Linked DNA regions of Homo sapiens: all the other regions are linked to region 4. Evidence: promoter capture Hi-C in 16 types of primary human blood cells and fetal thymus (Javierre and others, 2016). All regions are on one chromosome and are shown on one strand. Each heading gives the region's core, a stretch centred on a gene start or on the middle of the fragment in contact. The rest is flanking DNA. Distances are from core to core; before and after follow the strand shown. Region 1 overlaps TAX1BP1 (Tax1 binding protein 1). Region 2 overlaps TAX1BP1 (Tax1 binding protein 1). Region 3 holds the start of SNX10 (sorting nexin 10). Region 4 holds the start of HOXA11 (homeobox A11). Region 5 overlaps SNX10 (sorting nexin 10).

Region 1 (4,481 bases), core at 906-3,405, 560 kb before region 4:
GTTTTTGCTAACCAAATTAATCTAATTTACTTCACAAATCAATGAAGTTTCTACAGAGCAAGCACAGCAGTAAGGCTCTACTCATATTTTAGCCATTAGTAAGAAGGCTTATTGCTAAGATCTAAAACAGTGTGCTTTTACAACTGTTTCTTTTGCTGACCTGTTTGAAATACTAAGGCAAATTTTTAAAGTTTTGTAATAATAAGCACTTTAAAAAATATCAACTTTCTTCTTGTGTCCCCTCTGCTTCTGTTATGGCCAAAGTCCTGCTTTACTGAATATAATGGATATCCCAAAAAGAGACTGTCAATCATGAACCTGGAAACCACTGTAGAGTATCAGGCTAGTTGTCAGCCTCTCCCTACCTGAGGTTTGCAAGCATTCCAAGATAAAGAGTATATTCAGTAGCAATCCCCCTTTACCTCTGCACTAATAAAGGGACTTTGCTACCAGCAACCATATTTCATGGAAAGACTTAACTATGAATACTCTCTACCTGGTAACCTAAAGCCATCAGAAAAATGAACAGGTAGCATTTACAAACACTGGAGAACTCTGCCTAAAATAACTGAAGAGTTTTATTATTTTGTTTCTTTGAGTTGTCTGAGCTAATTTGGGCTCCCAGGGAGGTCATGATACTAATGAAGTCATTAATGATTATCTCAAGTCACTGGCTTCACAAAGGAAAAAAAAAAAAACACCAATTCCAGTTCTTTAAAAAAAAAAGAAAAAAAAAAAACTCACTACTGGTTACAAGACACCAACAAAAGAAACTATAGCTAAATCAACAGAACCAACATCTATTAGATACAACTACCAAAACTGAATTAAGAGAATAATATTTTTCTATGAAGTGAGTGAATAGTCACGCTTCCTTTAAGAAAGATATTCAGTAAGAAGGAAATAAACTAGCTTAGAATAAACGTCCCATGTTTTTAATCAAAAGCTGATTAAGGATAATACTTTTTTCTTAAAATTTAACATATCATTTCCTAAAATAAATTAAACCAACAAAGCTGTAACTATTTTTTTTATAAAACAAGGCAAAAGTGTTTCAACTTCTGTTAACCTCAATTATAACAGTTTTTTAAAAACCCACAATCCAACCTTATACTTTTAGTTCACTGAAGTTTTTGAGGTACAAAATAGCACATAGGTATACATATATGTATTTGTATATGTTTACAAATGCATCAAAAGGAACTCAAGAAGTATACACTATAGAGTTAATAGTCTTATAAGGGATGTGTGTAAAAAGAAGACTTAAGGACCTTAAATTTTACATCAATTTATTGTTTGAATTTTTACAAGTATATATAAATGTATTATTTCTATTGTTTTAAATAGCCCTATTAACAAGAAATTCCATTTTTAAACCCTCCCCTGAATTTCACATTTTCTAATAGAAAACACTAGTATTTCACTTTAAAATATAGTATTCACAATGGTTACAAGTCTGAAAAGTAAAATAATTTGTGATTATCCTATTAATGGCCTTCATTAATCTCTCTCCAACACTCCAATCTTTTTAAAATTTCATTGCTATAATTATAGAAATATTTTACAAAAGTCATTCCAGTACCTTGTCATTTTTTACTCTTATTAAATTACAATATAGCTACTAATCATTTAAAAAGTTTACATGGATGAATGCAATCAAATATAATTATGTCATTATCAACCCATTTTAAATAATAAAATTTCTAATTCCCACATAGTTCCTCTGGTTCACTCCTCCTACAGATAACAGACTTAGGCAAGCTTACAAAAATGTTGGAATTCACTGAGAATGTCAAGGTCGCACGGGAGTGGAGAAATAATATGCAAAGTCACTGCATCACCTTGTGGTAATGCCTGGGAAGTGTAGCTTCACTAACATCCTGAGAAAAAGTACAAACCTCCTCTCAGTTGGAGAGAAGTACACTCCCTACACAAAAAGGAAAGTAGAAGCAAGCAGCTTTACCATGTCAAATTCTGATTCCCCTTCTCTAAAGTGCACCTCTACAAACAGGAGTATAGTAAGTAGGCAAGCCAAGGATAAGTATGAAACGTCCAGTCAACAATTAAGGGGCCAGACACATTTGGCTGGGAAACAAAATCAGAAATGCTTATACATGCTGGCTACAGTGCCCTCTTCCAGGTTTCCTACTACACTTCCCCAAGTTCCAATGCCTCTAGAATTTCTTTATGTGTGTTATGCTGTAAACTGTATATTATAAAGTCTTTGGTCTAAATTCCAATTTTATTATTTTGCGAATGCATTAATGTCTATAAAAAAGATAAATAATATATAGTGGGCACTCAGTTATGTATACAGCTAAAATAAACATGGGGTGGGGGCAGGGAAGCATTTCAATGTTATCTTTACTTACTCCTCTTGTAACTTTTTCAAGCCCAAAGCAGATTTGACTTTTGTGGTAGTATTTTTCCAGTGGTTCCCAATACTTGTTTTACTTTAGCCCAAAAATGTAAGCCTTAGTGAACTTACTGAAAAATAGACCATAGTAAGAACTTCTGTACATTAAACATATGAAGCCAAATTAAGCTTTTTAATTTAGATAAATACTAAATATAATTTGCCAGTCCTAACAATTAGAATTCAAAAATAAGGTAATTTTGTTATGTGTGATAATATAATTATGGTGATTCTGTGTTTTTCTAGTCTTTATCATTTAAAGATACTAAACTAGGCCGGGTGCGGTGGCTCACGCCTGTAATCCCAGCACTTTGGGAGGCCGAGGCGGGCGGATCACGAGTTCAGGAGATCGAGACCATCCTGGCTAACACGGTGAAAACCCATCTCTACTAAAAATACAAAAAATTAGCCGGGCGAGGTGGCAGGCGCCTGTAGTCCCAGCTACTCGGGAGGCTGAGGCAGGAGAATGGCGTGAACCCTGGGGGGCGGAGCCTGCAGTGAGCTGAGATCACGCCATTGCACTCCAGCCTGGGTGACAGCGAGACTCCGTCTCAAAAATAAAAAATAAATAAAAATAAAAAATAAAGATACTAGGCCGGGCGCGGTGGCTCACGCCTGTAATCCCAGCACTTTGGGAGGCCGAGGCGGGTGGATCATGAGGTCAGGAGATCGAGACCATCCTGGCTAACAAGGTGAAACCCCGTCTCTACTAAAAATACAAAAAATTAGCCGGGCGCGGTGGCGGGCGCCTGTAGTCCCAGCTACTCGGGAGGCTGAGGCAGGAGAATGGCGTGAACCCGGGAAGCGGAGCTTGCAGTGAGCCGAGATTGCGCCACTGCAGTCCGCAGTCCGACCTGGGCGACAGAGCGAGACTCCGTCTCAAAAAAAAAAAAAAAAAAAAAAAAAAAAAAAAAAAAAAAAAAAAAAAAATAAAGATACTAAACTAACTGTAAGTGAAATGTCTTGATGTCTAAGATTTGCTTTAAAAACTCCAGGGGAAAAAATTAATGTTAGAGGGGGTAATAAAACAAGATTAGTAAAGTGTCGGTTCATTTTACTGTTCATTCTCCTTTGTGTATGTTTGAAAATTTCTGTAATAGTAAAACCAAAGCAAATAAAGAAATGAAACAGATTAGTAACACTCCACATATGACCCACTGTAGCAGAAACACTGCATTTTAGAATATGAACGCTTTGTACCCTTAGAAGTGTTGTAATTCAGGTAATGGTTGATAGAGTTACTGAAAGTTTTTCACATCTTCAGCTAAAAAACCTTTAGAATTATCTCCAAACTTTAATCCGATAGGACACACAAACATATGAAAGGAAAAAATGTCCAGCATTCAAATAGTTTCCAATTATTCACACTGTGGCTCAAAAAAAGAAAGACTAACAACTCTCAACAGACCTCTGCTCCCAAAAAATGTAATCAGCAATTTTTCTAGGAGGCAACAGCAAAAGCCCCAGTCTATTAATTTGCACCCTTGCAGACATCCCTATTTCCAGAATCCTTTACACCTGAGTGCCAAGACATTCCGCCCAGGTATCACCCGCACCACTTTTATTTACTTTTTAGATTTTTATAAGTTGGTTTCTAAAATGCTATGATATTGGCCCACACATATTAGGGTAGAGGACATTTTTATCTTCTTCTAAAGGTTTATTTGGGACAAAATAAGCTTTAAAAAGACAGAAATGCATAAAGCCCAGATTTAACATATCCATTCCAAAAGAATACAACAAAGTCCCCAAAAGAAGTATACAAGGAGCATCATTAGGATCTTTCATGATTATTTTAACATTATTAAAAAGGTTGAAACTTTGAATTCCAAAATTTTACTTTTGTTATGGAAAAGGTATTTGCTGGTTAATTCTACAAACATGGCTGCAGTGAGAACTATAAACAGCGGTCTACAATTTAAGAACGTGATGGGCTGGGTGCGGTGGCTCACACCTGTAATCCCAGCACTTTGGAAGGCCGAGGCAGGCGGATCAAGAGGTCAGGAGTTCGACACTAGCCTGACCAACATGGAGAAACCTCGTCTCTACTAAAAATACAAAAATT
Region 2 (4,583 bases), core at 471-2,970, 580 kb before region 4:
TAGAGGGCACTATATACAATTAATCACAATAACTCAAATATAACACTGTAGTTTTTTAGGTATAGGATAAAGATATTGAAAAATGTGATCTTAAAATGAGAAAAGAATGTCACTCTATTTTTTCTGTCAATGACTACTAAAAATTAATACACAAGGCATTATTAGACCATCTACATAGTAAATTTATATTAAAGCCATGATCATGACTCCACAATATTCTATTTACAAAAACAGTAAGGAGTAAATAGCTTTTTAAATTTTCTTTTTAAATTATGGTTAATCTAGGCTTATTCATTTCATCAGAAGTACAACAGGAATCATTCTAAAAATGTCCAATCTAAATTAAGAGACTGGGAAGCTCCCCTGACTCACTGCCACACTTTAGAAAGAGAATGCTCATGGTAGTGAAACAAAGTTCACATCCAATTACAGTTAGATTTATTGATTTACACCATTATCCCAAGCAGCTTCATCCCCAAATCGGTAACATTCTACAATGAACTGATTACGCCACCACAAAAAGTTAGGCAAAGGAACATAAGGAAAGCTTTAGACCTAAACTCTCCCAATTGGTACTTACTGCACTATCCACTATGCGCAAAATAAGGATAGGCCCTAGGGAAAGTCTCTGCCACAGTGGAACCAACAGCATAATTGTGGCCAAAAGATTTTTTTAAGCATTTCAAAAAAAGACACTCTAAATTTATTATTTTAGTTAAAAAGCATTCGATTTTTTTTTTTTTTTTTTTTTTTTTTTTTTTTTTTTTTTTTTTTTTGATACGGAGTCTCGCTCTGTCGCCCAGGCTGGAGTGCAGTGGCACGATCTTGGCTCACTGCAAGCTCTGCCTCCCGGGTTCATGCCATTCTCCTGCTTCAGCCTCCCGAGTAGCTGGGACTACAGGTGCCTGCCACCACGCCCGTCTAATTTTTTGTATTCTTAGTAGAGACAGAGTTACACCGTGTTAGCCAGGATGGTCTCGATATCCTGACATCGTGATCTGCCTGCCTCGGCCTCCCAGAGTGCCGGGATTACAGGCGTGAGCCACTGCGCCCAGCCAAAGCATTCGATTTTTGTGGCAACTCTCACATAACCTTAAAATTCTTAAAATGCCAACCAACATGAGCTCTGTTCTTAAAATTATCAATGAATCACTATCTCACTGTGAACACCAACCTCAAGAAGGCCTGCTTTTGTGGTCACCACTAACATGTCAGAATTTCCTTCATCTTCCATAGTAAGCAGCTCTTCAACTGGAGAAGAAGCTCGAAACTGGAAAGGTGTACTTGCTCCACGAATTTCACCCTTATGGGTAACGTAACAGAACTGATAAAATTCTCCATCATCATTTGGAAGGTAATATCCTAAGAGGAAGTTAACAAACAAAATTATTAAACTTCCTATTATAAAATTCATGTTATTTCAATTTAACAATACTTGCCATGTCTCATTCCCCACACTGTTCTTGACAAGAATCTGGGATATGTCCTTCCTCCTTTCGCAAATTATCAAAACTAGATTCTTCCTTCCTACTCAAAGTTAAATTTTTTCTTCTCTTAGGTTTAAGCTTATATTCCCAGAATATCCTTTCCCCTTGTATCTTCACTAGGGCAAAACCCACTCATTTAGGACAGGCAAGTATATACTTTACAATGGGAAAGAGGCTGGAGGAGGAGCAAGGGAAGAACCAATATAAAAGTCTACTGAGGACTGGGAGTGGGGGTGGGAATATGTCATTTAGAGAAATCTTCCCTCCAATTTGACATTCATTACATGTAAATAAGAGATATTAACTAAAGTAATATGCTGCACATGTGAACTATATGAAGGCAGAAAAGATGAGGTCTGCTAGTGCAGTATGGTAAAAATAAGCTTTAGGACCCAGTGCGGTGGCTCATGCCTGTAATCCCAGCACTTTGGAAGGCCAAGGTGGGCAGATTCGCTTGAGCCCACCTGGAGTTAGAGACCAGCCTGGCCAACATGGTGAAACCCTGTCACTACAAAAAATACAAAAATTTGCCAGGTGTGATGGCATGTACCTGCAGTCCCAGCTACTAGGGAGGCTGAAGCGGGAGGATCGCTTGAGCCCAGGAGGTCAAGACTGCAATGAACCATGATGGTGCCACTGCACTCCAGCCTGAGCGACAGAGTGAGACTCCGCCTCAAAAAAAAAAAAAAAAAAAAAAAACAGAGAGGAGAGGCAGACAATCTATAAGATAAGAGAAATTCTTGTGGCGCTTTAAAGCAAAGTAGCAGTCCACAAAAAGGAATTAAGAGAGGGGTGGAGCATGTCAAAAAAAAATACAGGAGCCCACTTGAAAAGCTCCAAATGGCTAAAGCTGAAACAATTTAAGTAACAAAAAAAATATGGTATTAGACTTTATTTCACAGAAGAAATTAATGATTCCATGGAGAAGAAGAAAATTCTTTCTAACGTAATGATCAACTAATAAATATACAAGTAATGAACTTCATTAGGCAAACACCACAATAATCGTAGGCAAGATGCACAGAGGGATACTAAAATTAGTGGCTGAAAATATGAGGAGAAACAAGATATTTCCACAGTCTCAAAGTAGCTCCCTCATAATATTCATTAATTACAAGGGAAAAAAATAATAACTTTATTTACAGTGGAGAAATCCAGAAGACACAATCTTAAACAAGCAATCAAGATTATTATAACCAGTAATAAGATGTATGGACATCACATACTCCCTGATAAAATGTACTGAGAAAGGTACAATACTGTTTCTATGGCATTCTTCCCAAAAATGCATAACTTCAATCTAATCATGAGAAAACATCGAGCAAAACCAAGATGAGAGACAAGCTACCAAAACAAACAACACCACAAAATGCTAACAGTACTTCACAAGAAAGTAAAGGTTATGAAAGATAAGGAGGAAACCAAGGAGACTAAGACAACATGACAATTAAATACAAAGAGGAATTAAAGACTGGATCTAAGAACAGAAAAAGAACAGTAATGGAAACACTGGTGAAATCTGAGTAAGGTTTGTACTTTAGTCAATAGTACTGTACCACTGTTAAACTATTGGTTTCTTAAATAAATGTACCATGGTCATGTAAGATGCTCACATGACACGAAGATGGGCAAAGGGCATACAGAAATTCTGTGTACTACTTTTGCAAGTTTTCTTTACATCTAAAATTACTTCAAAATACAAAGTTTAAATAAATATCATAGACATGTATCTGGCAACATACATTTTTAAAGATTTTAAAAATCCACCCTCCTAATAGCTACTAAAAACTTACTAATTCATACCAACTTCCAAATAGCCACTAGGCTTATTTAAAAGCTTAACTAGAAAACAAATATATAGCATAATTAATCAGCTCTGGCATCAAGACATTAGAAACTGTACAAACTAGGTATTCAAGGTCTGATTCTTTTTTTTTTTTTGAGACAGAGTCTCGCTCTGTCACCCAGGCTGGAGTGCAGTGGCCTGATCTCAGCTTACTGCAACCTCCACCTCCCTGCTTCAAGCAATTCCCCTGCGTCAGCCTCCCGAGTAGCTGGAATTACAGGCACACGCCATCACGCCCAGCGAATTCTTTTGTATTTTAGTGGAGACGGGGTTTCACCATGTTGGCAAGACTGGTCTTGAATTCCTATCCTCAGGTAATCCACCCGCCCCGGCCTCCCAAAGTGCTGGGATTACAGGTGTGAGCCACCGTGCCCGGCCTCAAGGTCTGATTCTTTAAAAAACAAAAACTTCACTAAAATAAACTGCTAAAAAATATGGTTCAAAACCATTTGAGATAGACATAATTATTCAGAGCTGCAATTTAAAGCTGCCTGGAAAAACTTGTCAGATGGATACTGAAAATAAAATGGGAAAAAGTGAAAACTAAATTTTCGAGTCAAATTTTACAGACTGTGCCTTTAGTATTCAACAAGATTATAATAAATAAATAAGGGTTCATTTAGGAAAACAATCACGTTTAGGTATTGTTAGATGTTTTGGGTTTTGCATTTCAGGATTCTCATTACTCATCCACAAAATGAGCAAAGTGATTTGCATTATGCTTGAAAGCCCTTCTATAACTCTAATATTCAATGACTAAGCTTTCCCTGACTTCCTTATATAACAAAAAAGTTCTAGGCACGGAGATGCTTTTATTTCTGAATTTCAAAATTCAAAATAAAAATGAACTGTTGAATTTTCAGAAACTTGTAAAACATATTGCATTTAGGCTTAGTGCCCATGAATTTTTGAGACAGGTTCTCACTCTGTCGCCAAGTCTGGAGTGAAGTGGTACAATCTCGGCTCACCGCAACCCCAGCCTCCTGGGCTCAAGTGATCCTCCCCACCTCAGCCTCTCAAGTAGCTGGGACTTTAGGTGTACACCACCATGCCTGGCTAATTTTGGGGGTATTTTTTGTAGAGATGAAGTTTTGCCAAATTGCCCAGGCTGGTCTCAAATTCCTGGGCTCATGCAATCCATCCTCCTTGGCCTCACAAAATGTTAACATTAGAAGTGTGAGCCACCATGTCTGGCCCAAAAATGTTTTTAAAGTATTAACAGAAATAAACTGGATGCTTTTCTCTACTTT
Region 3 (4,651 bases), core at 2,012-4,511, 890 kb after region 4:
AAAATAACAGAGACTACAATAGAAATACATACTGAATCACAAAGCCTTGAGTAAAGTTGAATCACTTGTAGAACTAAAAGCATCTCTTCTGCAGAAACTGGGAGCAAGGAGTAGTTACTTAGGGAAAAATAAATGTAAGTATCAATAGGAGTTGCCCTTGACTGAAGCCTGGCTAAGCCCTTTACATTCGCAGGTGGGTGGCTGAGAGTTACTACTGATTCCAGACCCAGGCTCCTAGTTCAAATTTTGGCTCTCGCATTACTAGTTGTTTGACCTTGGGCTTTGTGCCTCAGTTTCCACATCTGTAAAAAGAAAGAAGAAGGGGAGAAAAACAATACCTATCTCAAGGGTTGTTAACGTACTTAGGACACTTGTAACAGGGCCTACCACACAGTAAGCCCTAGATAACTATTAGCTTATAACAGAAATCTGACACACATTTGTTGGGTAGTTAAAACTGTAAGCTGAGTTTAGAGAAATCATAAATACTCTGATGGCTTAGTTTCCCCAGAGGTAAACTGAAGACAGTAACAGAATCTGCTTCATAAGTCTGTTGTGATGCTTAATGAGACTGCCACATAAAAACTCTTTCACAATGCCTGGCCCATAATTAAGTGCTCGATAATGTCACGATGCCTGGAATATAGTAAGCACTCGATAAATGTCAGCTGTTGTATTAACAGTTCTGGGAAGCAAAGATTACCATCACCCTTTTTTATTTCTGAATAACAGGCAACTCAGAGAGTGTTAAGTGCCCCGCCAACAAAACTATACTTAGAAAATTATTATACCAAGATTTCAACTCAGATGGGTCTGGAATCACAAGTTCTAACCACTACACTATATACCTTCCTCTTTGAACAGGGCTTAGAGAACAGAAGAGCTAATTCATACCTACCAGATTACTAAGAAAAAGATGTTTGGAGATAACAATGCTAAATTTGGGGGATTCCCCACAGAGTCAACCATGAGCTTGGCCAAAAGCCCTTCTCCGCCATGCTAGGAAATGAAAATCTGCATAGACTGGCCCCTGTTCTCAACCAGTTGTCTGCCTTTCACCAAGTGGTTGTGAAACCACAGCCCTGTCACTAAAAACGGAAAAAAGAAGTTATTTTCCCCAGTAACTTAACGAGCAAAATGAAGCCTTAAAATGAAAGTAGTGATCCTAGGGCTGAGAAAAGATATCCACTGCTCCAAAGCCCAGCAGAATTGCTGTAGAACACCAACGTTACTCTTTGATTAACATACTTTTATTTTTTTTAATGAACGTGCTTATTTCTATTACTTTAGGTTACCTAACTCAGGGGTCCTTCCCATTAGTAAAATAAGAGGAAGTGTGTACCAGCCTGGAGGGGAGACTCCCTGGTGGGGCACAGTGTCAGCCTGAGCAAGTCCCACTGTCAACACTGATGTCCTCCCCAGTTAAATGGTAATCAAAAGTGAGAATGAAATGGACTGGTAGAAGAAACAGGACGACCAGTTGAGTCCATGCTAATCACTGATATTTCACATCTTCACACAGTTTCTTCTAAATGTATTTTATTTTTGTATTTTTATTAAAAACTGCCCTATCAGTCAATCTCAAGTCTACCCTTCCTTTAAAAAATAGTAATAAAAGGCCGAGCGCAGTGGCTCACCCCTGTAATCCTAGCACTTTGGGAGGCCGAGGCAGGTGGATTGCTTGAGCTCAGGACTTCCAGACCTGCCTGGGGCAACATGGCAAAACCCTGTCTCTACAAAAAAAATACCGAAGTTAGCCAGGGGTGTGGTGGCCCGCACCTGTGGTCTCAGCTACTAGGGAGGCTGAGGTGGGAGGATCACTGAAGCCTGGGAGGTGGAGTTTGCAGTGAGCCAAGATCGCACCACTGCAATCCAGCCTGGGTGACAGAATAATACCTTGTCTCAAAAGAAAAAGAAAAAAGTAAATAATATTAAGAATAATGAAGGTCCAGCTATGTACCTACCTTAGGAATAGGCATCACTGGAAGTGATGGCAGAGGCAAGGCAGGAGTCCCTGACCTCACCTCCATTCTCTCACTGAGGAGCCCCTGCAGAAGCTGGTCAACTATCCAAGCAGTCCCTGCTTCTTCCTGGCGAAGGCCTCAGCCTCCAGCCCAGCCCCCTCCTGGGAGAGGAGGGGGAGCTTATGCAATCCAAACCCAGTTCCCAGGCCCCAGAGGTGGACATAACTCCGGGGTGGAAGTCAGAAGCCTGCCAGGTTGTAGGCCTGGTTCTGCTCCCATCTGGCTGAATGATCCTGGTCCCAACACTCAGCGTCCCTCGGCCTTAGCCTCCCTGTCTGTAAAATGAAAGGTTTGATGGAGATCATGTGCAAGCCTCCTCCCCGTTCTAATTTTCTGATACCATCATTTTTAACGTGTCTTGTAGAGATAGAAGCCCTTCCTTTCAGCAGGACATGTTGCTCCCCATTCCGTGACGATCCCCCTCAATAATCCGTGTAATTTGAGAAAAGTATGATGCATCGGAACTGAAAAACAGGCTGTTGCTTTCCTGGTCACCAAATCTGATAATCAGTCAATTATATGGATTTTCCCCTGGGCCTTCTCCCTCAATCCCACAATCCCACGAATAAACCTGCCTACCCCTCCCAATTCCTCAACTCAAGGCTACCCGTTAATGAATGAATAAAAAAATAAATAAATAAATTTTAAAAACCACCTCCCCACCCCCTTCTACCCGGCCTGGTGTAAGGTGCCACAGCACTTCTTCCGTAATCTAGAATCCACCTCTGCCCCACCCTCTCCCCGGGGTGTCTTTTTAGCCAAGAATCCCTGGATCGACGCGCTCCATCTCCCCGCTCTACCGCGCTGATCATTTCTCCCTGCCCGGCACACCTCGGCTGAAAAGGAGGCGGCTCCTCTGCTCCAAGCCCAAGGGACCCAAACCTCTTTCCAGCCCGCAAGGGTGCGGGCACCTGGGAACAGCGGGAAGGGCCCGCGCCTCTGGAAAGAAGGGCCGCCGTCCCCACCTGGGCGGTGCAGGGGAGGCCCCCTCAGCGGGTCTCTTGTCACTTACGGGCGGCTCCTCCGGGCAGAACAGAGCAGGGCCGGGCCGAGCCGGGCTTGCGGGCCGCGGAGTTTGCTGACTCAAAGGCGCGCGGCGGCAGCGGCGGCGGCGAGCGCCCAGGAGCGCACACGAGCGCAGCCCCGCGCTCCCCGCGCTCCCCGCGCTCCCCGCGCACGTAGCGGCCCCGCGCCCGCGCTCAGCGCCAGCCGTCCGCCTGTGGGCGCCGCGCCTAGTGCTTCCGCCGCCTCCGCGCAGCCCAGCCCAGGTGCGCCCCCACCCTGCAGAGCTAGCCTCCTGCTTCCTGAAATTGAGTTAGGGAGGAAATGCCCCCATTAGTCCGGACGTTGAGGCTGGAGGTGCTCCAGCGGCACCCTTCGGAATTCGCCACCTGAGTCACCTTAAGCTTCCTAACCCTGACCCCACAGTTATGGGGAGGATTGCCGATGGGGAGGAGGACGGATAAATAACGTGATAAACAAGAATGGCAGAATGTTCATAGCATCTAGGTGGTGGGCTATGGTGTTTATATAAAATTATTTCAGTTTTTGTCTATGTTTGAAATGTCTCAATAAAACATTTGGGGGGAAAGCTAATGAGATCTGCCAAGGGACCTGACTGAGGAAAGCATTTCCCAAATGGCACCTGAGGCTGGGTCCCCACACCTGTTTGCATGGGAAACCACAATCATCACTTAAACTGCTAATAAGTGACTGAATGACACAGAATAATAAGCATAGCCTAATATTTCATTTTTCAAGCATGAATTTTCCCATTAGATACAGCTTGTCGCTGATCATCCTCCAGGGACCATTCCAGGCCCACCTGAAAACGCATCTGTTCACCACACCTACATTAACTCCCTAACAAAACGTATAAATATACAATGTTGTGTCTTAACATCTTGGATCTTGAAGTTGTATTGCTGAACCCTCAATCACTGGTATTTAATTTCCTAAAATTGCACCCAAGTCATGACACACAAGTGAATGCAACCATGATCACTTTTGAAAATCAAATTAAGCTGGTGTGGTGGCTCACGCTTGTAATCCCAGCACTCTGGGAGGCCGAGGCGGGTGGATTACAAGGTCAGGAGATGGAGACCATCCTGGCTGACATGGTGAAATGCCGTCTCTACTAAAAATACAAAAACTTAGCTGGGCGTGGTGGCGCGCGCCTGTAATCCCAGCTACTCGGGAGGCTGAGGCAGGAGAATAGCTTGAACCCGGGAGGCAGAGGTTGCAGTGAGCCGAGATCATGCCATTGCACTCCAGCCTGGGCGACAGAGCAAGATTCTGTCTCAAAAAAAAAAGAAAGAAAATCAAATTAAAGTGTATTTTTTATATTCTTGTCCCTATGCTCCGCAAAGAAAAACATTGAGTAGAAAACAAAATGCAGCATGTATCTAAGATCCTAAGAGATTCTGTAAAATTAAAATCTTTCTGAACTTATTGTCAAGAGCATGACTTTACAGCTGTAGACAAAGCAGCAACAAACCCTTGGAGAGTCTACTGAAAGTCATTTGAATATCTGTTAGAATTTTGACCCTATTAAGACTGGTAACTTGGGCCGGGCGCGGTGGCTCACGCCTGTAATCCCAGCACTTTGGGAGGCCGAGGCGGGCGGA
Region 4 (4,270 bases), core at 570-3,069:
CATAATAAGAATATTTCTTTTCCAGTGCAATACACGATTAGATTTGTTATTGAGTCAGTTACAGTCAGCTCAGCAATAAATAAATAAATCGATGTTGACACTTAAATACCAAAGATCTTAGAGTTTATACTCTAAATCTCCCCAAGATATGTAAATAACTTTGGCTATTTCCTGGAGAGGGAAAAACAAAAGGTTATCTTTTTACATATTTTTTTATTTTCCTTCAGCAACATCCCAGATCCTTCCAAGAAGAGAGTTGTTGGGAGGCCTCAGGTCTGGGCCCTTCTCAGCTCCTGGCTCTGCCTGGCTGCTCTGTGCTCTGTGTCCTCTCCTTTCTTTCGCTTCCTCCAAACATTGCTCCTTCAATCCTGCAGGATGGGGAGCATATTTTGCCTTCTTAATTTATTTTTTTTCCTCTTCTCAAGAAAGCTAGACTCAGAGTATTGCTATGGCCTCTCTCTATCCTTAGCACAAACCTAGCTTTTTAAAGACATCCCTGTTTCCCCAGGTGCAGGGAGTTCGGGAAGCACCTCTCCTTTCTCTGGTATTGTATTCCTCCTGTGGAATGAGCAGTAGGAAAGGCACAGAGCTCTCTGAGTTTTTGCCCTGCACATCCCTTGCTTTCACTCTCACACATTGCAAGGAAGGAGAGTAGGAGAGTAGGTGGGTTACCCCTTTCTCAGCCACCTCTCCTTGGCCCTCAGCCCGTCCTTTCCACCTCCATTCTCCCCACACCCCTGGAGCTCTGTAAGCAGCCTGATGGGCCCCCCACGAAGATGCAGCATACCCAGGAGAAGTCTCCTCGGATGTCAGCGCCTCTAAAGCAGCCCAAGGCTTGCCTCAATTGCATGGTTTCCCGAGTCCTCAGCTCCAGAAGACCAGGCAGATGGGTGGACCGGTGAGCAGCAGGGCAGCCCCTGTGCCTCTGTCTCTGCCGAGTCACTCCGAAGCCCGGCAGGCAGCGAGGAGGAGGGAGTTTCTCCAAGGACAGAAGGTGGGATGAAGAGGTAGGCAGGGAAGATGAGGGGAGAGGTGGATCCCGGGTAAGACGAAGGCCCTTCCGGGCCCTGCGGATCAGTGACAAACCGCGGGGAGAAGCCGTTCTGGCTGTTGGCGGTTTAGGGACGGAAGGCACTAAAGCGCTTCGGAAGTGACCATGAATGAGAGAGTGTAATCAAGTCACCGTGCAAATCGGACAAGCCACCAGGCAGGCACATCCACGGCTTCAAACTCTGGCCCCGAAGGGGTTCCGGCTAGGGTCGGAGGCAGAGGCGCTTCCCAGAGCAAGTCTATGGGAGGGGGACTGCGAAGAAGGGGGTGCAAATGCGAGACTCCAGGAGAACAGACTCCGAGACCACAGGCCACACAGCGACGGACTCCCACCTGGCTATCCCCAGTCCAGGGCATCCCTCACCCACCCGGGGAGCTGCGGGTGGGAGGTGGGGACGAGAGTTGAGCTCTCACCGCCCTCTGCACACTCGAGAACGAGGACCCTGCAATTGAGCACAAGCATGCTGCATGGGGGCGCACCCCAGCCTCTCCGCGCGCGCCGGGAGGCCCCCCAGCCAACATGAGTTACACCGGCGATTACGTGCTTTCGGTGAGAACACCGAGTGACGATCTGTTGCTTCCCCTGAGGTGGCTACAAAGAAAGGAAGCCGGGAGGGAGGGGAGAGGAGGAAAAAAAAAAAAGGAAAGGGGGGGGGAAAAGGCCCGGACTAGCTAGCAGCTTGTCAATTTCAACATCGGGTCACATGACCAGCACCTCCCTGCTAAGGATGGGGATAGATTTCCACGTCAGCTTACGTCTCCAAATTTCTACTTCACGGATCCGCTTCAAAGAGGCAGCTGCAGTGGAGAATCATGTTAAGCTCGGCTACTGCGGAGAGCCCAAGGTAGCCCAATAATGGATTTTGATGAGCGTGGTCCCTGCTCCTCTAACATGTATTTGCCAAGTTGTACTTACTACGTCTCGGGTCCAGATTTCTCCAGCCTCCCTTCTTTTCTGCCCCAGACCCCGTCTTCGCGCCCAATGACATACTCCTACTCCTCCAACCTGCCCCAGGTCCAACCCGTGCGCGAAGTGACCTTCAGAGAGTACGCCATTGAGCCCGCCACTAAATGGCACCCCCGCGGCAATCTGGCCCACTGCTACTCCGCGGAGGAGCTCGTGCACAGAGACTGCCTGCAGGCGCCCAGCGCGGCCGGCGTGCCTGGCGACGTGCTGGCCAAGAGCTCGGCCAACGTCTACCACCACCCCACCCCCGCAGTCTCGTCCAATTTCTATAGCACCGTGGGCAGGAACGGCGTCCTGCCACAGGCTTTCGACCAGTTTTTCGAGACAGCCTACGGCACCCCGGAAAACCTCGCCTCCTCCGACTACCCCGGGGACAAGAGCGCCGAGAAGGGGCCCCCGGCGGCCACGGCGACCTCCGCGGCGGCGGCGGCGGCTGCAACGGGCGCGCCGGCAACTTCAAGTTCGGACAGCGGCGGCGGCGGCGGCTGCCGGGAGACGGCGGCGGCAGCAGAGGAGAAAGAGCGGCGGCGGCGCCCCGAGAGCAGCAGCAGCCCCGAGTCGTCTTCCGGCCACACTGAGGACAAGGCCGGCGGCTCCAGTACGTATAAAGGCAGCGCCCTGCGCTTTATGAAAGGGGAGTTGGAAATCTAGCGCAGCACCGCTGTTAAATTTTTATATGCTGTTTTATAAGCATATAAGGTTTATGAAGGGCCTTTAGGTTTCCCCCAACAAAACTTTGTTATAAAAGGCGGGATCACGTGGCGAGTGCTGAAATTGGCCGTGAAATACCCACCGGCCAAGGCATGCCTGCAAAAAAAAACAACTCCCCTTTTCCCTTTTTTCCCTTCTCAGCTCCCAAGCCCAGCAGCTCGACCCCGCTCGGGGCCAGCTCCAGGCTGGGGAGCCGGAGGTGGGCGCCTGTAAATTCCCCCTGCAAGGGCTTCGGGAGCTTTTGATAGCGAGGTAATCCGGAGATTTTTATAAAAGCCATGTGTTGCGCCGGGACTCCAGTCCCGGCCGGGATTCAAAGGCGTCGCTGTTTAACGACGGCGCTAGGAGCGCGTTTAACAGATAAAGTAGCCCGCTTAGCTCTAGCAATATATTAAAAGAACAAATTAACCCAAAGTTGGCCTTTTTGTCCAAAGGAAGCCATTTTCCTCTGGCGTGGTGGCAATTACGTGCCTCCTTCTGCCCAACTGCATGTTATTCACAATTGTTATTCAATCTGTCAAAAGCGATTTTTTTTTTGTCTTGTGGGTCTTTTTTTTTTTTTTTTTTTTTTTTTTAAAGGGGGAGCAAGTAGAGCCTGCCCGCAGCTTCGGGAAGCCCCCTTTCCCTTCACCCTACCTAAGATAGAGCCGCTGCTCTGCCGTGTGCAGGATGGCCGTGTGGCCGTGGTGCTCAGCGAAGGCCTAGGGTAGGGGGCTTCCGCCGCCACCTCCCCACCTCGGCGGAGCCGGAAGGCTGGCCGGGGAGGCAGAAGCTGGTGGCCAGGACTCAGGCTGACAAAGACCCGGCAGCCGCCCCAGATGTTAAGGACTGCCCAGTCTTGGCCGCAGCCGGGAAAGACTGGGACTGGAGCCGCCTTTACTGCCTTGGGAAGGGGCAGCCCAGGTGCTGGAAGGTGAAATGTCCGCAGGCGGCTGTTTGTTTAGTCTGGCCTGCGAGAGGCAGCCGGCAACCCCCACTTGGCTGCTTTCAAAGAGGCTTAGGCAGCGCAAACTCGCCTGTTGCTGTGCGAAGCTCTCCTTTCTGTTCTGGGGGCAGCGGGAGCAGCTTCCCCGGGGGCCTATTTAGGGAGCTGGCTTTTATCTGTGGCTGAGCCTCCAACTGCGGCCGTTCCAAGCATGCAGTCGGAGCGTTAAAGGCAGGGGCCTGGGCAGACTTTGACGGGGCTTGGGCTGGACCACCAGTCCCCATGGCAGCCCTTCTCCTCAGCTATGGGCTCTGGGGTGGATTGCAGCCCCCACACCTGGCTCACCCCATGCCTTTTCTCCCTCCACAGGTGGCCAACGCACCCGCAAAAAGCGCTGCCCCTATACCAAGTACCAGATCCGAGAGCTGGAACGGGAGTTCTTCTTCAGCGTCTACATTAACAAAGAGAAGCGCCTGCAACTGTCCCGCATGCTCAACCTCACTGATCGTCAAGTCAAAATCTGGTTTCAGAACAGGAGAATGAAGGAAAAAAAAATTAACAGAGACCGTTTACAGTACTACTCAGCAAATCCACTCCTCTAAGACTCCAGCGGCTGG
Region 5 (4,616 bases), core at 1,091-3,590, 810 kb after region 4:
GTGGGGTTGGATGAATCTACACTTCTCGTCGGGGGAGAAAGGGTATTTTCCTCTTTAGCATAAGCCATTTACATAGTGTCTTTAGACCAGAGTTTAAATTCAGCAGGAAATTGTAGCTTAATGGTTTTTTTTCTCTTTTCCTCTATATCTTTTGAAAAGAAGTCTTTGGAATTTTGGAGAAAGAGAAAGGGTCATTAACTACCAGAGTTTGCGCAGCTAAAATAAATTAGTGTCCAATGCACTGCTCATGATCTAGAAAAGTTTGCAGTAGGAGTGAAGCGCAATTGTGTCTGCTAAAAAGGGACAATGGTGACTCGTTTGTAAGATGCATATGGCAAAGAATAGAACCAAAGTCCTTTGTATATATAGCAAATGTTAAAGAAATTGTTGCTTATTTACATCCTTCTGAAATTTTTGAACTCCACTCTATTAAAATTATTAATTTCTTATGACCTTTATTTGCAAAGAAAATTCTATGCTTTGAATGTCAAATTGCAGTAACTAATTTCAGACAGTATTTTGTATTTGAAAATGTGTTTATATATAATAAACTAAGAAAAGGTCTATATTCCAAACAAAAACACAAAATTGTACTGAAATTGTTTCCTTCATTGAAAAGATGTTGCCTTGTATTCACAGGATACCAGCTAAGTAATTTAAATATTAAGAGGAAGACTATTTAGAAACAGAATAAGCTTTGTTATTTTCGTTTAAAATGTTAAGGGGCCTCTAATGAAAAGGGGTTGTCTTTTATAGCTCAAATACTGAAAACCTTATTGGTATCACAGTAGCTCAATAATAATGAATCCTTAAGGCATCCAACAAATACAAACCAAATTCAAAACAACGTCCAGTTTACTGTTGGATATAACGGTTATTGTGGCCAGGCTAAATGAAGTTGTTTAACTTCTTAATTGTCATAAAAGAAACTTTGTTCTTTTACTTTATACTGCATATCACTTGTTTGTATTTAATTATTCAATAAAATGTGGACTAGGTTTGAAAAACTGGCAAGATACTTCATATCTTAAGGAATAGTATCTGCTTAAAAATAAATACTTGTTTGTCCCTAGTAATTTTTAAAACTTGAAATTTTAACTAGAATTAAGTAACTTTCTTCTAAGTGAGACTTTATAAGAAGCCGAAGTAACAGGTTGTTGACGTTCAGTGCTGTTGACACCTTTGGGTTATATATAAATCTAGTTCTACAACAAAACACGTAAGTTGGCTTTATAGGTGAATAGTTTACCCTTTAAGAATCAGCCAGGGAAAATGCAGTTTTGCTGTATTGTAATCATAAAGAATCCAGGATTAGAATTCTTTACATTTAAGTCACATTAAAAATAGTGTTAAATAAACATCTATTCAAGTTAGCTACATCAGTAATTATTTTCTTTTTCCTAAAGAAAGCTTTATAAAAAATATGCCAGAGAAAAATAAGAGACAAAGCAAGAAAACCACTGGGAACTGAAGTTCATCTAAATATCTCAGCTGCAAGAAATCAGTTTTAAGAAGCCAGTGTGTGGACATTGAAACAACTAAACCAAGGCTAAAAGCCTCAAATATGTACAACTATAGCTAATATTAAACCATGTTTTACCAAATTTCCTCATAAAAAATAAAAAACACTGAGTTTGGGTCTAAGGCAGAATATATTCTCTTGTATAAAATAAGTGATCCGGCAAAGTTGATTTTTTTTCACGTTTAATGTAAAAATGATCTCGTGACATTTACATACTAAGTATTAGGCATTACATAATATTAATTTTGATGGCTATGTTACATCATCTAAAAATAATATGACAATTGGTGGCATAGTATGTGTTTTTCAAAACTGCTGTAAAACAGAAATAGTGTGAACTCAAATACATATTGCTGAAGGGATGAGGATCGCTCTTAAATGCCTGGATGGCATGAACTTTACATATTAGCATGGTAAGAAATTACTAAATCTTTTCTTTTCCTGTATTAAAATAATGAGGATCTAAGACACATTAAATCAAAATATTTACAAAAATTTAATAATGTTTTAGACCAAAGAAAAAAAGGACAAATTAAAGAAATCATTCTTATTCTAAATTTAATTTTTTTAATGTTAGTTCTCAGTTTTCTTAGCTTTTTTTTCTGTTGGTTCTTTGAAACAAGCATTGTAAAGACTTTTTAATAATACAATAGCTTTTAAACTCTTAGTGAAAATGAAAAGGTTGCTTTTTGTAGTAGCCTCTGCCACTCTTCAATTAGGCTGGGTAACAAAGCAACAAGTTATCCTAGTTATCTGAAAATATCTTCCTGTTAGTTTCACAGAAATATTTTGTACCATTCAACATGGATGAAACTTGGGTAATTATCTCAAGAAAATGTTGCCTCATCTGAAATCTGAACTTCAAAATAGTTTATCTAAGATATCTTTGGGACACTAAAAAAAAAGACATTTTATGAAAATTATACCAATCTTCAAGTAGATGCTTTAAAAGGGGCTTTTTAAAAATGAATAATTATTTCTGAAATTAGCAAGTCGACATCCTTTTCTAAATTATGGGAATATTTATTGGTAAAATTAAATTTATTAATCTTTATAAAATCCTTCCTCTGATTTAAGTAATAAGTAACCACCACTGATACTGAAAGTTATCTAGTGATAAGAAATTGCACATTTAGTCAAAAAATAAATCATTAACCTGATTATACAATGATAATGAAAACAAATTATTTGTCTCCAGAAACCATTTGTTGAAGCTGATTTTGGATAATGAAAATGTATTTCTGAATCTATATATTACAGTTATAAGTAATATTACTAGCACTATCTATGTTTTTTCTAAGATGTAAACATTATTTTAATATGTCTCTATTCATAAGATACATTTCCATCTAAGCGTGAAACAGAATACTGGAAAGGTTAAATACTCTTAAAATATTTCAGTCTAACACCCAAAAGCATAGTGTTTTGCCAGTGCAGGGGAGGTATCCACAAAATATCAGGCACATATCTGAGAGAGGCAGTCTGGTCTACACTGTTACTCTTCATAGGGTTTAACAACATATACACCGTGTTTATGGTAACACTGCCCCACTGATACAAGAAGGAATGCTCTATCTTGATTTTAAATGCTACTTAGTTACCTATCTTTTTAAATTCAATAAAACCAACTCGGTTTTTTAAAACATGTAAGTCATTTCATTGGAGGGCAAGATCTTGTTTACCAATAATGTCTGCCTGTAAAGGATAGTATTGTATTCACAGGATTTTTAGCTTTACACAGAAGCTTACCTAAAATAAGACAACATAAAAATACCACTAATAAACAACCCAACATCTTTAAGAATTTAAATACCTAACATCATGACAGTGAGCTTTAGGTAAGAATGTATTATTATGAAGCTTTCTTCTCTATGACTGGACATAATTTGCTATTCCTAAGATAGTAACATTAGAATTATTTTTCAGGATTCCTGCGGAGCTGTATTTACTTTACATCCATGTGAACTGCTGTCATCACTACTGTGTCCAAGCCCAGAGGATGAACTGGAAAAGAAGAGAGGGGGAAAATAATAAAAAGAGGAAATTGGTTTTCACAACACACTCAAAGCCTGAGTAACAGAGGAGAACTTTAATTATCTCCAGTCACAAAGAGAGACAGGAAATTTGGACTTTTAATTAGCCATTTGGAGTGCAGTTGGGTATTTTTTTAGCTAGATAATTTAAACGCGAATAATTCAAGTCTGACTAAATGAAAGTCACATAATCAGAATGCAAATAATTGAATTTCTACTGCATTCATTAATTCAGTGTGGAGGTGTGTGTGAAGACTACTATGATGAGCTGTCACAGCTCAATAAAATCTCAGTCAATTAATTTTTTCATTATCTTAGTATTATATCAACAAAAAAGTGAAGTGTGTATATATATCTATACACGTGCATATGTGCATACTATGTATTATATAAATACATATACATTAAATCAAAATGCAAGGAAATACCTTTCTGAATCATAATCTATATCATTTTCTTTTTTTCCTTCTTCATCTTCTTCAGGGAAACGTCTATTCATTAAGGCAAACTTGTGAATTGCTTCTTCCACAGAGTACTTAGTCTGCCCAGAAACACACGCCTCAATGTCTTCTGAATTCAGATGGCTCTGTAAGAAGAGGTGAAGGCTGCTATCTGAAAGCAAAAGTGCATTCTGTAGGACTCTATATTAAAAAAAAAAGGAAAAATAATTGGTGAACAGGATGGTCAGTGATAGGGTAGAAGAAAGAAAAACATTAGAAAAGTACCACTGAAGGTAATTTCTCTACTGTGGTAAACTTTGTATCAATTATGGGCTCTGCCCATTAAGGGGAGGAAAGCATATGTTAACTTTTATTCAATTATTTGGAAATTTAGGTGGGTAAAAACATGAAGCTAATAGTTAAGAACATCTGTTAAAAGAATAACTTCAAGGACATTTCTTCAATTTACCCATCTCTTATTACCATGTGGATTAATTATGGAAATATTTTGCTTATATAGTCATAGAAAGTTATTCTACTTTAAAAAATTTACTGCCAACAGCATGTCAATTCAGTGATCTTTATGGGATAGGCTGTCATGAAACATCAAAACTTTCAACT

What was found. The method cuts DNA at HindIII sites, captures the fragments that hold promoters and counts their contacts. A CHiCAGO score of 5 or more calls a contact.
Region 1: a contact is called between a fragment that was not itself captured here and the fragment with the promoter of HOXA11 in region 4, in 1 of 17 cell types (endothelial precursors). The highest score is 5.3, in endothelial precursors.
Region 2: a fragment that was not itself captured here is called in contact with the fragment with the promoter of HOXA11 in region 4 in 1 of 17 cell types (megakaryocytes); the score reaches 6.1 in megakaryocytes.
Region 3: the fragment with the promoter of SNX10 here is called in contact with the fragment with the promoter of HOXA11 in region 4 in 5 of 17 cell types (neutrophils, activated CD4 T cells, M0 macrophages and 2 more); the score reaches 8.9 in neutrophils.
Region 5: a fragment that was not itself captured here is called in contact with the fragment with the promoter of HOXA11 in region 4 in 3 of 17 cell types (naive B cells, total B cells and neutrophils); the score reaches 13.2 in naive B cells.

What each region holds. Positions count from the first base shown.
Region 1 is chr7:27,742,633-27,747,113 of GRCh38, reverse strand. All of the region lies in intron 1 of TAX1BP1 (Tax1 binding protein 1), which reads right to left. Among named protein-coding and RNA genes, the nearest start is that of TAX1BP1-AS1, 4.2 kb to the right of the region's middle. The HindIII fragment of the contact is 784 bases long and covers 1,764-2,547 here.
Region 2 is chr7:27,762,613-27,767,195 of GRCh38, reverse strand. It overlaps TAX1BP1 (Tax1 binding protein 1), which reads right to left. Exons shown (of 17, transcript NM_006024.7): 4 at 1,175-1,362. Among named protein-coding and RNA genes, the nearest start is that of TAX1BP1-AS1, 24 kb to the right of the region's middle. The HindIII fragment of the contact is 305 bases long and covers 1,568-1,872 here.
Region 3 is chr7:26,290,472-26,295,122 of GRCh38, reverse strand. SNX10 (sorting nexin 10) reads right to left here and starts at 3,261. Exons shown (of 7, transcript NM_013322.3): 1 at 3,037-3,261. RefSeq lists an enhancer at 1,227-1,276 and silencers at 2,768-2,847, 2,998-3,237. The HindIII fragment of the contact is 4,940 bases long and covers 1-3,432 here.
Region 4 is chr7:27,182,781-27,187,050 of GRCh38, reverse strand. HOXA11 (homeobox A11) reads left to right here and starts at 1,819. Exons shown (of 2, transcript NM_005523.6): 1 at 1,819-2,615; 2 at 4,023-4,270. The coding sequence starts at 1,907. The coding sequence ends at 4,255. It overlaps HOXA11-AS (HOXA11 antisense RNA), which reads right to left and starts at 1,643. Exons shown (of 2, transcript NR_002795.2): 1 at 788-1,643. RefSeq lists enhancers at 692-1,573, 2,456-3,337, 3,338-4,220. The HindIII fragment of the contact is 8,872 bases long and covers 1-4,270 here.
Region 5 is chr7:26,371,401-26,376,016 of GRCh38, reverse strand. It overlaps SNX10 (sorting nexin 10), which reads right to left. Exons shown (of 7, transcript NM_013322.3): 6 at 3,984-4,196; 7 at 1,634-3,526. The coding sequence ends at 3,445. SNX10-AS1 (SNX10 antisense RNA 1) reads left to right here. Exons shown (of 2, transcript NR_136272.1): 2 at 3,449-3,998. Among named protein-coding and RNA genes, the nearest start is that of LINC02981, 25 kb to the left of the region's middle. The HindIII fragment of the contact is 1,856 bases long and covers 1,413-3,268 here.